2 separate regions of the Homo sapiens genome follow, and region 2 is linked to region 1. The links are contacts of gene promoters, found by promoter capture Hi-C in human tissues and cell types (Jung and others, 2019). All regions are on one chromosome and are shown on one strand. The core of a region is centred on a gene start or on the middle of the fragment in contact, and the rest is flanking DNA. Distances in the headings are between cores, read along the strand shown. Region 1 holds the start of TMEM109 (transmembrane protein 109). Region 2 overlaps PATL1-DT (PATL1 divergent transcript).

Evidence for each region. Contacts are between HindIII fragments. The study calls those that stand out against the background at their distance.
Region 2: a fragment that was not itself captured here is called in contact with the fragment with the promoter of TMEM109 in region 1 in 1 of the 25 tissues and cell types used here (small bowel).

Annotation. Positions count from the first base shown.
Region 1 is chr11:60,910,787-60,918,221 of GRCh38, reverse strand. It overlaps TMEM109 (transmembrane protein 109), which reads right to left and starts at 4,064. Exons shown (of 4, transcript NM_024092.3): 1 at 3,954-4,064. TMEM109-DT (TMEM109 divergent transcript) reads left to right here and starts at 4,159. Exons shown (of 2, transcript NR_186356.1): 1 at 4,159-4,262; 2 at 4,745-5,056. It overlaps PRPF19-DT (PRPF19 divergent transcript), which reads right to left. Exons shown (of 2, transcript NR_186697.1): 2 at 7,322-7,435. LOC124902676 (a long non-coding RNA gene) reads left to right here. Exons shown (of 2, transcript XR_007062688.1): 2 at 1-606. RefSeq lists enhancers at 2,156-2,205, 3,266-3,435, 2,830-3,828, 4,827-5,825, 7,293-7,435 and a silencer at 3,616-3,775. The HindIII fragment of the contact is 7,495 bases long and covers 1,042-7,435 here.
Region 2 is chr11:59,674,932-59,682,366 of GRCh38, reverse strand. It overlaps PATL1-DT (PATL1 divergent transcript), which reads right to left. Exons shown (of 4, transcript NR_187296.1): 3 at 7,394-7,435; 4 at 6,326-6,970. Among named protein-coding and RNA genes, the nearest start is that of PATL1-DT, 9.3 kb to the right of the region's middle. RefSeq lists an enhancer at 1,489-1,989. The HindIII fragment of the contact is 4,352 bases long and covers 2,403-6,754 here.

The DNA.
Region 1 (7,435 bases), core at 2,815-5,314:
AAAGAAATACTATTAATAAAAAGCTAACATTCAGCTAGGTCTTGCCATGCACCACCGCGCTCATTTAACTGTCACAACAGCCCATCGGGTAGGTGTTGCTATTATCCCCCATTTTACTGAAGTAATTGAGGCAGGTTAAGTATTAACTGGGGAAATCAGCATTTGAATGTAGGTACTTCTGACATTGGACCCCTCATACACAACAACTCTGCTGTATTGTCTCCAACTAAGTCTCAGAAGTGATTTAGAAAGTCATACAGGCCAGGCACAGTGGCTCATTCCTGTAATCCCAACACTTTGGGAGGCTGAGGTGGGAGGATTGCTTGAGCCCAGGAGTTTGGGAGCAGCCTGGGCAACATAGGAGACCCTGTCTCTACAAAATAAATATAAATAAATAAATTAGTCAGGTGTGGTGGTGCGTGCCTGTACTCCCAGCTATTTGGGAGGCTGAGGGGGGAGGATCACTTGAGCCCAGGAGGTCACGGCTGCAGTGAGCTATGATCATGCCACTGTATCCCATCCTGGGCAAGAGAGCAAGACGCTTAAAAAAAAAAGTCACACAACAGATTATTCATGAGTTAAAATAAACTTGGCATCTACCAATCATCTCAGTGAATTACTGGTGAAAATTACCTAACAACTTTGTGCTTTGTGCTCTGGTCTTGTAACACAATGCCACAGACAAGTTAAGACCCAACAAGTGCCAACTCATTGAAGCAGGTAAGGATCAGCCAAGAAAAAGTACACAAGTTCAACTTCTACTTGCCACTGTGCTTGAGAAATGTCAGACAGCGCCAGCAAATTCCCTGTTCCCCTCCAGGTTCAGAAATGAACCTGTAGCTCCAGGAGTTTTCATGATTCAGACCTGATGATCAGAGGCTAAGCCATGCCCCTGAGGTAGGAGCAGTCAGGTTTTTGAACTTTTTGCAGTTACACAGGCACTCAGGGAGTTGACAATAAATCCAGAGCCATGAGGGATGGAGAAGGAAGAGAATGATGTCCTAGTCTTGCTTAGGGGGAAGGAGGAGAGTCTAGGAAAGGGTTCTAAAAATACTACATTTAGGGTACTTTTTGGTCCAGAAACAGCTGCTCTAAGCCCTTCCAGAAGCCTGGAGGGTCAAGCAAGGCTGAAAAACATGCAATTCATGTAGAAGGCCCTCAGGCTGGGAAAGCCTTCTACTGTCTTTGGCACAAATCAAGAACCAGATGGTTCCTGCCTGCCAGTGGTCGCAGATGAGGAAAGCACAGGTGAGTTCCTGAGCTATCTGGGTCATAACCATGTTGGGGACTTAAAAGAGCAGGGTTGCTATCTTGGGTTGGATCCTTTATCCAAGGACCTCCACCAGGAGGGATCAAATATCGTTTCCTCAGCCCTAGGAGGTCAGGGTGCCATAAGCTGCTCCTCCCACAGCAGCCTGCCTTGTTCTGTGCCAGCCCCAACTCTCCAGTGGCTGTCTGCCCCAGTTAAGGGGAGCTAGGAGACCTTGAAATAAGCCCTCTGCAGTGAGGCTGGCATCGTTATGCAGACTGATGTTCTGAAGTGCACCAGATACCAAACCTAACAGGATTGTGTAGTGTATCCTTTGGAGATAATGAGTGCAGAGATTGGCTGGCTGGTCTGCTTTTTCAAATTGTTTTCTTTAATAGGATTCCTTCTCATTTTTTTCCAGGTGAATCTCAGGCAGTATGGACTCACTGCTATTAGGCCTCCTCACTTTGGCCTAATCAAATAGTTTTACTAAAGGCATGGAAACAGTCTCAGCCTCTGAGAGGAGGAAGCATGTCTTAAAACTTCTTCACCTTCTGCAATGCCTGGCCTCAGACAAATAATAGGCACTCAATTAACAACTCATAATAATACAAATGTTATACATATCTATACATATACATATGTTATAATAATTTTTGTGTGGTGCTTTATAATTCACAGAGTGCTTATTGTTTCATCACTTCATTTAACTCTAACAACAATCTTTTAAGGTATTATTACCCTCTTCATCTTACTCAGAAAAGTATGGCTTAGAGAGGTTGAGTGACTTATCCAAGATCACACAGCAGAGCTGGGACTTGACTCCAGTACCCAGGATCTCAATCTTGCCTTTTTGCTTGTCCCATACCCGCATGCTGCCTTGATAGTGGACATAGTCCCTGCCCTCATGGAGCTGAAGTTCACCAACAAGCTCAAAGTGGAAGGACATCCAGACTCCTCCGAGGGAACACATACCAGGAGACCATCTGCCTTCTGGGCTTACAGGCCATGGTTTTGTACCAAGAGGTATGAGAGGACAGCAAAAGGTGGGAGACAAAACCTGCCACTTCTGTTCGGCAGCTGCAATATGGCTCAGGTGGGTCTGGAGAGCCCAGCCTGGCTGGGGAAACAGCTTTACTTATTGTGTTAGTGAGAAGGCGCCACTGCTTATGTTTAGCTGTGGTTTGCTACAAGGGTAGGATGGGGCATTTCGCGCCCCCCCCTCCCAATCAAGGCTCCTTCCTCCTCTTCTCTTTCCTTTTGTTAGTTTCATTTCATGCTATGAATCACCAGGTGGCAGGAGGGGCGGCAAAAAGTGCCCTCTACCGGCTCTGACTGTCCCGCCGCTGCTCATAGCTGCCCCTAAGGAGCGGCGGTTCTCAACTTTGGCTGCCCATCGGAACTGCCTGTGCAGCCTGTTAAACAAGGACGTCTGCCCCACCCAGGGCTACTCACTCAGACTCTTCCAGAGAGGGACTCAGCCCTTTGTTTTGCAAAGCTCCTCAGGAATTTCGGATGCATAGCCAGCAGCTCAGGGAAAAGTCTAAGCAAAGCTTCAAAAGTGCAGCAGTGTACAAAGGACCCCTGACTTCCGTCCCAGGCTCAAGTGTGCCACGGACTAGAAGCTACTACCTTACGCCTGTTACTTAACCTGCCTGAGTTGCAGTCTCCTCAAACGTAAAAGGGAGTGAACCCAGGTGAAGAGTTGCTGTAAGGAGTTAAGATATTTCTGCAGCAAGCGCTTTGTAAACTAAACATCTATAGAAATGTTGCAGCACACACATTACCACTGACTATATATCGTAGCATAATTTAGCAGTTTATCAACCTGCCTTCCCCAGTAGACCGAGCGACTCCCGGTTAGACTTGACATGTTGGAATCCCCAGCGCCTAGTAGGAAAGATGACTAATAAATGTTTATTAAATGAATATTAGCAACCTGCCAAGAAACCGTGAGGGTCGAACGAGAAAGCCATGGAGAGGTGAGGAGGGAGGTTATTTTAATAGTAGATCCAAATATACAGCAGCCACACGAGAAGCACAGCTGAGTCTAAAGGAAGGTCCTAAACAAGGCGAAGCCGCCACTGCAGAGAATGAAGTCAGCGCCCTGGCAGGTTGGGGGCAGCTCCCACTAAACCCCTGACAGCTGCTGCCCAGCAACTGTTTGGGGGCAGGGCGACGGCAAAGGGGCAGCTTCCCTGCCGCTCCGCGCCCTAACCGGGGCGCAGCCTCCCGGAGACAGGGTGTCAGTGGCATGTGCTATTTCGAACGGCGCGTCCCCTGCCAAGCGCTGAGGGGTAGCGTCGCTGGCAAGGAACGTGGCGCGACCCATGAGTTTGGGGCCCCCCGAAGGGCTCGAGCCGAGGCTGCAGGAGGCTGGGCCGTGGGTCGGGGTTCGGGGGCTCGGGCTTGGCGCTGGCCTGGTCCCCACGCCCGGGAGCCGCTCCACCTCTGCCGGACCTCGGAACCTCGCCGCAACCCTCTTCTCCCCGGAAACGTGCGCCTCCCGGGTTGCCTGGAAACGACGCCCCCGGTTGCATAGCAACGGGGATCCGGGTCCCCGGTTTGTTTCGCACGCTGGGCGCGCGGACCCCTCCCCACTCGGACTCTCCAGGCCTCGCGGCTCCGCCTGGTGCCGCCTGCAGCGGCTGCTGTCTCCCCTTCCCGTGCGCTGCCCCACATTCCGACCTCGGCCCGCTCTCACCTTTCTCAGGCCACTGCTATCCTTCACGTGCGACTTCGCTGAAACGCGCCACCAAACCCGCGCCTCAACTCGGGGCGCTGGTTTACCTTCTCCGCATGCGCAAGGCGGGATGAGCTCGGAGACTAGCCGGCCTTCCTCACAATCGAAGCCTGTGCCGGGAGCGCATGCGCCCCGCTTTATCTATTGCGTTTCTTTTTCCCCCCACAAGCATTCCCACCGAGAGAAGAATGGGATCGGAAGTTCCAGCAGGGAACGGAAGTCTCTGGCTGGAAAGGGGAAATAAGTGACTATATCTGGGCTGTAGAGTGGGTAAACTGGATCTTTGAAATCGGAGTGGAAGCTAATCCTCCTCTTGCCACCACTCGGCATTTTGGGTCATGTAGTTCTAGAGCTACAAATGTTCCCTGGGGCATTGTGGGCAATGTAGTTCTAACCGAGCCGCTAACGAGCACCTAGTCTTCCCATACACTTTTCGCGCTAAAAAGGCACAAAAGAGAAAGATATTAAAGGAGCAATTAAAAGCACACTGCTCTAGGAAAACGAATGCGCTCCCCCAGAGAGAAAATTCATACCTGAATACTGTAGACGGCTCCCAAATGTTAGCTCAGAATTTCAGAGAAAGAGAGGAACCAACTCTCACTCTCCTTTTTCTGCCACAAAGGCAGTGCATAGGGACAGGAGGCAGATAAATGCTAGGTAGAAAAGAGCGGGTCCCTGGTGAAACCCCACCCTCAAGCCAAAAAGCCTGAAACCATGGCCCAAAGTGAGAACTTCTATCCATGTTTTTCCAGTTGAATGTTGCCTTTTCCTAAGCCACCCATGGCTCTGCCCTGCCTCATCCTGTGCCTAGAAAGACCCCAGACTCATCTGGCAGAGAGGAGAAGCAGCTGGATGAGGGGACGACCATGGCTGGATGTCAGAGAGAAGCAGCTTGTCTTCAGAGGGACAGCTTAAGGCGTAACTTCTGAGACGAATCTGGCTGGAGATAGCTGGACTTCAAGGGAAGACTACATACCGGCCTGTCCCACCCCCCTCTTTTCAGCTCACCTTCCCTCTGAAATCCACTTTGATCAGCAATAAAATCCCAGGCATTTGTCCTTTAATTTGTTCGTGCAGCTTTATTTTTCTTGGACGCTGGACAAGAGCTCGGGAGCCACGAGTGCGGATACAAAAGCTGTCACGCTGGCCCTCTGCCCTTGCTGGTGGAGGGCAACCGCGGGCCCACGGAGCTGTTAACACTTAAGCTGTCCACGGACGACAGAGCCAAAAGAACACTGTAACATGCCCTCTGGGGCTTCAGGAGCCTCAGGCACTCTGCCTGGACACTGCCCCGGGGCCTGCACGGAGTTCGCTCCTGCCGGTGTCCAAAAGCGCACGCTCTGGCTCCTGCACCCACTCACCTGCACGCTCCCTCCTATGAGGGGTGGAACGCGGTGAATCTTGAGTGAGTGGAGTGTGATCCCACTGGTGCTGAAAAACGGCTGGCTTGTTCCAGCGCTTGTGCACTCCAGTTCCCGCCTTGTTCACTTGCGTACTCCCTCCCATGAGGAGTTGAGAGCAGCGGGCTGAGTAAACGGGGCACCCCTGTTGTGAGTCCTGTGAAAGGTCAGGGCAATATCCTGCTTCAGCAGCACCGTGAAGGAGAATGAACAGGGCTTCAGAATGAGGTGATCTCTTGCCTGTCGTGTGATCCTGAGCACACAGCTTCATTTCTCTGAGCCTTCATTGCTTGACGTTCAAGAACTATAAAGGACCTAAAAATACCACTTCACAGTAGGTGTGAAGTTTCAAGGAAGCAACAAGCATGAACATTAAAAAAAAAAAAAAAAATCCAGGTTGCTGACTGAATGTTTTTATCACCATCAAGAGCTGTCATAGGAGAGCTTCCTTTTGATGTTAAAACTTGTTTCTCAAACTCAACCCTCTAAAACGTAACTCTTCCCTCCCACCCCCAACCATTCAGCCTTCCAGTTCTGCCTTCCTCCTAGAGTACACACTCTGTAGGCTCCCAATCTGTCACCTCACCCAGTTGTTTCTTTCCATCAGATGTTCCTCAGACACATCCATCTTCATCTGAGCTCTTGTCACTTCCTGCCCCTCAGCTAAGAGTCCTTCTTCCAGGACAGGCTCTGGTAGCATCCTAAACCTCACCTTCCAGCTTTTCTAACAGTTTCAATTTTACATTTGCTTGTGCGATCCTTTCTGATGTCTAAGATTAACAATCTCAGGTCACAGACTTTCCTGGGAAAGAAATTTAACCTTTTTTTTTTTCTATGACAAATTAATTTCTTTTCAACTCTCTTTTCCATGTGGGTAGTAGAAACAGTCTCAGACAGTTCAGGGTTCTTCCCATCCTTGATTTTCAGGTCGTAGACACCTTTTGGAAAATGAATATAGGGCCAAAGTTGGGGGAGAAAATGTATCTAATCCTGGCCGGGGGCAATGGCTCACACCTGTAATCCCAGCACTTTGGGAGACTGAGGCAGAGGGATCACTTGAGGTGAAAGAGTTCAAGTCCAGCCTAGCCAAAATGATGAAACCCTGTCTCTCTAAAAATACCAAACAAAACTAGCCAGGTGTGGTGGTGTGTGCTGTAATCCCTACTCAGGAGGCTGAGGCAGGAGAATCACTTAAATCCAGAAGGCAGAGGTTGCAGTGAGCCAAGATCACGCCACTGCTCTCCAGCTGGGTGACAGTGAGTGAGACTCCATGTAAAAAAAAAGAAAAAAAGAAAATTCATCTAATTATCAGTGTCAGTTGTTTAAGCTGGCAACTTCTCCCTGACTAATCTTCTGTCACTTATCCACACAGATTGCTACTGAAGATACCTGGGAAATTAAGCTTCTTTTGGGTCTTTGGCCAATGTGTCCCCATGCTCCCCAGGCAGCAACAGCAGCTTTGGTCTGGGAGGAACAAGGCATAGAGTTCCTTCCTCAGGGACCCACCAGCACCAATGCATATATCTCTTTTCCCTTAACTCTCCCTGTTTCTCTGAAACCAAGTGCCCTGAATTTTTTCTATTCCCTGTGGGCTGGCTTATGAAACGGAAAAGCCTTGACAGGACTTCCTTTTTCCTGCATCCTGCTATCATAGCCATAAACTCCCCAGTAGAGGGACACCTCTGGTTTTGCTCATTGTGATACTACCAACACCTAGTATCGTGCCGGGCTGACACGCTATGGGTACTCAATAAAGATTGGTTCAACAATTAATTACTGAGTCTCCCTCCTTCTAGTCTGTCCCACTCCAACCCATCCAGTAAGTGTCTTCCAGAGGAAACTTCTGAAAGTATGGTTATCACTCCATAGCTCAAATGCAAACACATGCTGTTGTGCTGCCAGCCCAATCACCACCCAAGTTTTACCACCTTGGGTTCAAGGCCTCTCCTAAACGGATCCATTTTATTTCCAACCACACATCCAAGTACAGTAGTTGAGATGACTGGCCTGTCAGGCAACCTGTCTTCCAACCAACAATCATCA
Region 2 (7,435 bases), core at 3,329-5,828, 1.2 Mb after region 1:
GGTGGCCTATGACTTTCTCGTACCTGGATAATTGTATCTTTCTCTAGGTTTGGAAAGTTTTCTGCTATTATTTCTTTAAATAAGCTTTTTACTCCTTTATCTTTCTCTACTTCCCCTTGAATTCCAATGACCCATACATTAGCTCTTTTGATGTTATCCTATAAATCCCATAAGCTTTCTTCATTCCTTTTCATTATTTTTTCTTGTTTCTCCTATGACAGTATATTTTCTGAAGTGGTGGCCTGCCCCTCCACAACCTGTGGGTGTTTCTCCTCAAGTGGGACGAGAGACTGAGAAAAGAAATACGACACAGAGACAAAGTATAGAGAAAGAAAAGTGGGCCCAGGGGACCGGCGCTCAGCATACGGAGGACCTGCACCGGCACTGGTCTCTGAGTTCCCTCAGTATTTATTGATTACTATCTCTGCCATCTCAGAGATGGGGATATGGCAGGATATAGGGTAATGGTGGGGAGAGGGTCAGCAGGAAAACATGTGAGCAAAGATCTCTGTGTCATAAATAAGTTTAAGGAAAGGTGCTGTGCCTTGATGTTCACATAGGCCAGATTTCTGTTTGACTTTACACAAACATCTTGGTGCATTAAAGAGCAGTATTGCCGCCAGCATGTCTCACCTCCAGCCAGAAGACAGTTTTCTCCTATCTCAGTAAATCGGGTTTTACACCAAGATATTCCATTCCCAGGGAGGAGCAGGAGACAGATGCCTTCCTCTTATCTCAACTGCAAAGAGGCCTTCCTCTTTTACTAATCCTCCTCAGCACAGACCCTTTATGGGTGGCGGGCTGGGGGACATTCAGGTCTTTCCCTTCCCACGAGGCCATATCTCAGGCTATCACATGGGGAGAAACCCTGGACAATACCTGGCTTTCCTAGGCAGAGGTCCCTGCGGCCTTCCGCAGTGTATTGTGTCCCTGGGTACTCGAGATTAGAGAACGGTAATTACTTTTACCAAGCATACTGCCTTTAAGCACTTTTTTAACAAAGCATATCCTGCACAGCCCTAAATCCATTACACCTTGAGTCAACACAGCACAATTATCTGCAAGCACAGGGTTGGGGCTAGGGTTACAGATTAACAGCATCTCAAGGCAGAAGAATTTCTCCTAGTACAGAACAAAATAGAGTCTCTTAAGTTTACTTTTTTCTACATAGACACAGTAACAGTCTGATCTCTCTTTTCCCATTTTCAAATAACCTATCTTCAAGTTCACAGATTCTTTCCTCTGCTTAATTCTGCTATTGATGCTCTCTACTAATATTTTTTAATACTCATTGTATTTTTTAGCTCCTAGATTTCTGGGTTTTTTTTAATTGCAATATCTCTGTTAAATTTCTCTGGTAAATTTTTGAATTGTTTCTCTGTGTTTTCTTGAAGTTCCCTTTAGGGTCAGTCACTGGCATCTTATTTTGTTTGGTGAGGTCAAATTTCCCTGCTTATTCTGGATGCTTGCAGATGTGCGTCAATGTCTGTGTATTAGGTATTTATTCTAGTCTTTGCATTCTGGCTTTGTTTGTGCCTGTTTTACTTCAATAGGCCTGTCTAGAAGTTCTAAGCAGCCTGACTTGTGATTCCTAAGCCTGTGGCTGTTGCAGCCACTTCAGCACTAGAGGGGGCCCTAAGCCCAGGTTCATCACAAGTTTTGCAAGGGCTTTGAGGCTGACACAGCACCCAAGCCAGGATGGACCTGAGGAAGATTGAAGGAAGGTACCTAGGCTGTATAGATAAGCTAGCCAGGGACCCAAGCCCAGAAGACTGTCCCAGTGGCCTGGACAGACACCCCTCCCAGCAGTTCCCTGCACAGGCAGGACAATCCCCACATGTGGAAAGAGGGGCTGGAGCTGAGACTGGGCCCCCTCAAGGGCCCCCATGGAACAGAGGTCAGCAAACCCATCCCATTGGCTTAGGTGGGTGTGGGGCCAGACTTGAGACTGGGTCTCAGAATCTGCTGTTGGACAGAGACTGGAAAGCCCATTGCAGAGGCTCAGATGAATGGGTAACTCCTGTGAGATATGGGCAACTTTCCCTTTGGGAAGCAATTTCCCAGCAAGTAGTACTAAGCTGGGACCACAGCTGAGGAGGGGTGGAGACGAGCCACAAGGCAACTTTCAGGTCCAAGCTGCGAAGACCAACGTCAGCAGGCAGATGAGCCTTCCCTGCTGAGGCACTGGTGTGCATGATTCTTCCTGAACCCCCTGGCAGATGGTTTTGGTGGTAGCCTCAAGGCCAGTAGGGGCTGTTGCCAAGCCCCTTGGGGAATGAGGCCATTTCCCCAGGCTTGAATCTGGGAGCACAGTTGATGGGTCTGCCAACAGGGTATGGGTCTGCACTCTCAAAATCACCCTCCTAGGTCTTAGGCTCCATTGGGCTTCCACAACTTTCTACCTGAATCGTGAGGCTTCCACAAAGAGACTTTTTTGTCTGGATGGGTGAAGAATTCTTATTGTTGGGGGATAAAAGCAGGTGACCTCCTATACCACCATCTTGCTGACATCATTCCAACCCTAGAATCTATTTATCTGTCCAGAAAATTTGCCATGATTAAAAGGTCTGTTGTTCTTCTTCAAGTAGGCTGTGGTGGTTCTATAAAATATGTCCACAAATTCTTTGAAACTCCTCCCTTTACACAGTGGAGCCTAATTCCTCTCCCTTTGAATATGGGTTGTACCTAGTAACTTATTTCTAGTACATAGAATGTGGCAGAAGTGACAGTGTGTGACTTCTGAGGGTGGGTCATAAAAGATATTGTGGCTTTAGCTTCTACCTCAGATTACTCACTGTAAAAGAAGCTACCATGTCCTGAGGACAATCAAGAAGCCCTATGGAGATGCTAATGTAGTAAGGAACTGAGATCTCCTATGAACAGCCAGAGAGGAACTGACACCTCTTGCTAACAGCCATGTAAGTGAACCATCTTGAGGACAGATTCTCCACTGCTAGTCAAGACTTCAGGTGTCTGGAGCCCCAGCCAACATTCAGACTGCAATCTCCTGAAACACTCTGAGCCAGAACCACCTAGCTAAGCTGCTCCCAGTTCCTGACCCCCAAAATCTTTGTGAGATAATAACTTATTTTTGTTTTAAGTGCTTGTATTAGTCCATTTTCACACTCCTATAAAGAACTGCCCGGGACTGGGTAATTTACAAAGGAAAGAGGTTCAATTGACTCACAGTTCTGCATGGCTGGGGAGGCCTCAGGAAACTTACAATCATGGCGGAAGGTGAAGGGGAAGCAACGCACCTCCTTCACAAGGTGGTGGGACGCAGAATGAATGCAGGAGGAACTACCAAACACATAAAACCATCAGATCTTGTGAGAACTCACTTATTATGATGAGAACAGCATGAGGGAAACCACCCCCATTATTCAATTACCTCCAGCTGTTCTCTCCCTTGACATATGGGGATTATGGGGATTAAAATTCAAGATGAGATTTTGGGTGGGGATACAACCAAACCATATCACTGCTAAATTTTAGGGTAGTTTTGTATGCAGCAATATATAACTAACAGCATGTTAGTGAACATAGCCCCAGTTGTCTTGGGAGTTACTGAAATGAACACAGAAACCATTGACATAGTTCACCTAGTGACATCTTCATTATTCATCTCTAAGCAGCACATAAAACACAAACTTAAACCTTAAAATTTTTTCTCATTATACTACCAGAAATCATTTTTTATACCCCAATGACTCATACATACCACATACATACCATAGGCTAAAAAATGGCTCCCCAAATATTTCCATGTCCTAATTCCAAGAACCTGTGAATATATTATTTTACATGGTAAAAGGGATTTGGTAGATATGATTAAATTAAGAATCCTGAGATGGGGAGATTATCCTGTATTATCTGGGTGCACACAATGTTATCACAGGATCTTTATAACAAAGGAGCAGGAGAATTGAAGAGAAAAGTATGATAACAAAAGCAGAGAGAGAAAGAGTTTGGAAGATTTATGCTGCTGACTTTGAAAATGGAGGATAGGGCTACAAGCCAAGAAATGCAAGTAACCTCTGGAAGCTAAAAACAAACAACAAAAAACAAATTCTCCCCTAGTGGCCTCAAGGAAGAAATGTAGTTCTGTAACCCATTTTAAAATTCCGACCTATAGAAATATAATTTTGTTACAGAAACAACAACAACCTAACACCTCATTTTATTATACTTCACAGATAATTGTGTTTTTTACAAATCGAAAAATTTTGGCAACCTTACATTGAGCAGGTCTATCAGCACCATTTTCCCAACAGCATGTGTTCACTTCACGTCTCTGTCTCACATTTTGGTAATTCTCACAATATTTCAAACTTTTTATTACATCTATTATAGTGATATGTGTTCAGTCATCTTTAATGTTACTATTTTAATTGTTTTGGGGCACCAGGAACTGCACCCTTATAAGACGGTGAACTTACTAAGTGTTGTGTGTGTTCCACTGACTAGCTGTTCCCTCATCTTTCTCCCTCTCTTTGGGCCTCCCTATTCCCTGCGACACAACTATATTGAAATTAGGCCAATTAATAACCTCACAATCACCTTTAAGTGTTCAAGTGAAAGAAAGAGTCACACATCTCTCACTTTAAATCAAAAGCTAGAAATGATTAAGCTTAGTGAGGAAGGCATGTCAAAAGCAAGATGGGCCAAAAACTAGGCCTTTGGGCCAAGAAGCTAGCCAAGTTGTGAATGCAAAGGAAAAGCTCTTGAAAGGATTTAAAAATGCTACTCCAGTGAACATACAAATGGTAGGAAAGTAAAACAGCATTATTGCTGTTATGGAGAAACTTTCAGTGGTCTGGATAAAAGATCAAACTAGCCACAACATTCCCTTAAGCCAGATCCTAATCCAGACACCCTAACTCTCTCAATTCTATGAAGGTGGAGAGAGGTGAGGAAGCTGCAGAAGAAAAGTTTGGAGCTAGCAGAGCTTGGTTCATGAGGTTTAAGGAAAGAAGCCACCTCCATAACATAAAAGTACACAGTAAAGCAGCAAGTGCTTGATGTAGAAGCTCCAGCAAGTCATCCAGAAGATCTAGCTTCATCATTGATGAAGGTGGCTACATCAACAGATTTTCAATGCAGACAAAATGGCCTTATATTATTGGAAGAAGATACCATCTAGGACTTTCAATGCCTAGGTTCAAAGCTTCAAAGGGCAGGCTGACTCCCTTGTCAGGGGCTAGTGCAGCTGGTGACTTTAAGTTGAAGTCAATGCTTATTTGTCCTTCTAAAAAATCTTAGGTTCCTTAAGAATTATGCTAAATCTACCCGGCCTCTGCTCTGTAAATGAAACAATAAAGCCTGGATAGCAACAGCACATCCATTTACAGCGTGATTTACTGAATATTTAAAGCCCACTGCTGAAACCTACTACTCAAAAAAAAAAAAAAAAAAAAAAACTGGTTTATTTTAAAATACTACTGCTCATTGACAATGCAGCTGGTCACCCAAGAACTCTGATGGAGATGTACAAGATTAATCGTTTTCAGGCCTGCTAACACAACATCCATTCTGCAGCCCACACAGCAATTTCAACTTTCAAGTCTTATTATTTCAGAAATACATTTTGTAAGGCTATAGCTGTCATAGATAATGATTCCTTTGATGGATCTGGGCAAAAGAAATTGAAAACCTTCTGGATACTTCTGGATGACTAGATAAAGGAAAACAAAACAAAACAAAAAAACCTGGAAAGGATTTACCATCCTAAATGCCATTAAGAACATTTGTGAAGCCAGGTACAGGCAGCGTGGCGAAGCCCTGTCCCTACAAAAAATACAAAAATTAGCCGGGCATGATGGTGCCCGCCTATAGCCCCAGCTACTTGGGAGGCTGAGATGGGAGAATGGCTTGAGCCCAGGAGGTGGAGGTTGCAGTGAGTCGAGATCGTGCCACTGCACTTGTTTGCCCCCTGCCCGCAAAAAGAACATTTGTGAGTCATAGGAAGGGGTCAAAGTATCAACATTGTCATGGAAAAACTTAAACTGCATTTGTCCTCTGCTCTCACACCACAACAATCAACACAGAAGACTTCTGTGACCAAATATATGGGGGATTTTCCCCACCAACAAGCAGTGGAGACCAGCTGGGTATCCTCCAATTCGATTCTGACACTACCTGGAGATATGTCAGTTCCCACAGGTAAAGGGCTCAGTCCCCAAGATTACTCCCTCCTCCCCCCAGACACCAGTTGCAAGTCCAGGTCTCTGGAACTTCTGATCAATCAGCTTCAAGTTGAGGTTCCCATGACCCCCTCTTTGGGTTCAATAATTTGCTGGAGTGGCTCACAGAACTAAGGAAACACTTATATTTACCAGTTTATTATAAAGGATATCACGAAGGATCCAGATGAAGAGATGCACAGGGAGAGGTATGGAGGAAGGGACACGGAGCTCCCATGCCCTCCCCAGGTAGCCATTCCCCAGAAACCTCCACTTGTTCAGCTATCAGGAAGCTGTCCTCTTGGATTTTTATGGAAGCTTCATTATATCAGCATTCCTTCCCCCAGGCCATGGGTTGGGACCCTCTCTGAAATGAGTCTTATGATCCACAATTATAAAAGCAGAAGATTAGAGTCCTGCTTTGGGGTAGGTGAAAGGAAGGCAGGTAAAAGGAAGGCAAGAGAAGGTCAAAGAGATTCTGTTTCCTGTGTATGAAAACCTATATGTATATATATTTCATAACACTACAAACATTAACAGGACTTTGGAAGAAGTTGATTCCAACCCTCATGGATGACTTTGAGAGGTTCAAGACTTCGGTGGAGGAAGTCACTGCAGGTGCGGTGGAATACCAAGAGAACTAGAATTAGAAGTGGAGCCTGAAGATGTGACTGAATTCCTGCAATCTCATGATTAAACTTTTAACAGGTAAGGAGGTGCTTCTTATGCATGAGAAAAGAGTTTCCTTAAGATAGAATCTTCTCCCGGTGAAGATGCTGTGAACATTGCTGAAATGATAATAAAGGATTTAGAGTATTACACAAGCTTAGTTGATAAAGCAGTGTTTGAGAGAATTGCCTCCAATTTTGAAAGTTCTAATTCATGGGTAAAATGCCAAACAGCGCTGCATGCTACAGAGAAACTTTTCCGTCATGAAAGGAAAAGTCAATCGAGGTGGCTTACTTCCTTGTCTTATTTTAAGAAATTACCATAGCCACCCCAACCTTCAGCAACCACTGCCTTTATCAGTAAGCAGCTATCAACATCGAGGCAAGACCCTCCATCAGGAAAAAGATTAAAATTCGCTAAAGGCTTAGATGATCATTAGCATTTTTAGCAATAAAGCATTTTTTAATTAAGGTATGTACATTGCGTTTTTAAAGACATAATGCTATTGCACAGTAGGCTATAATATAGATATCACTTCTCACCATTTTACATAATAGATTCTCGATAAATACGTATTGAGTTGA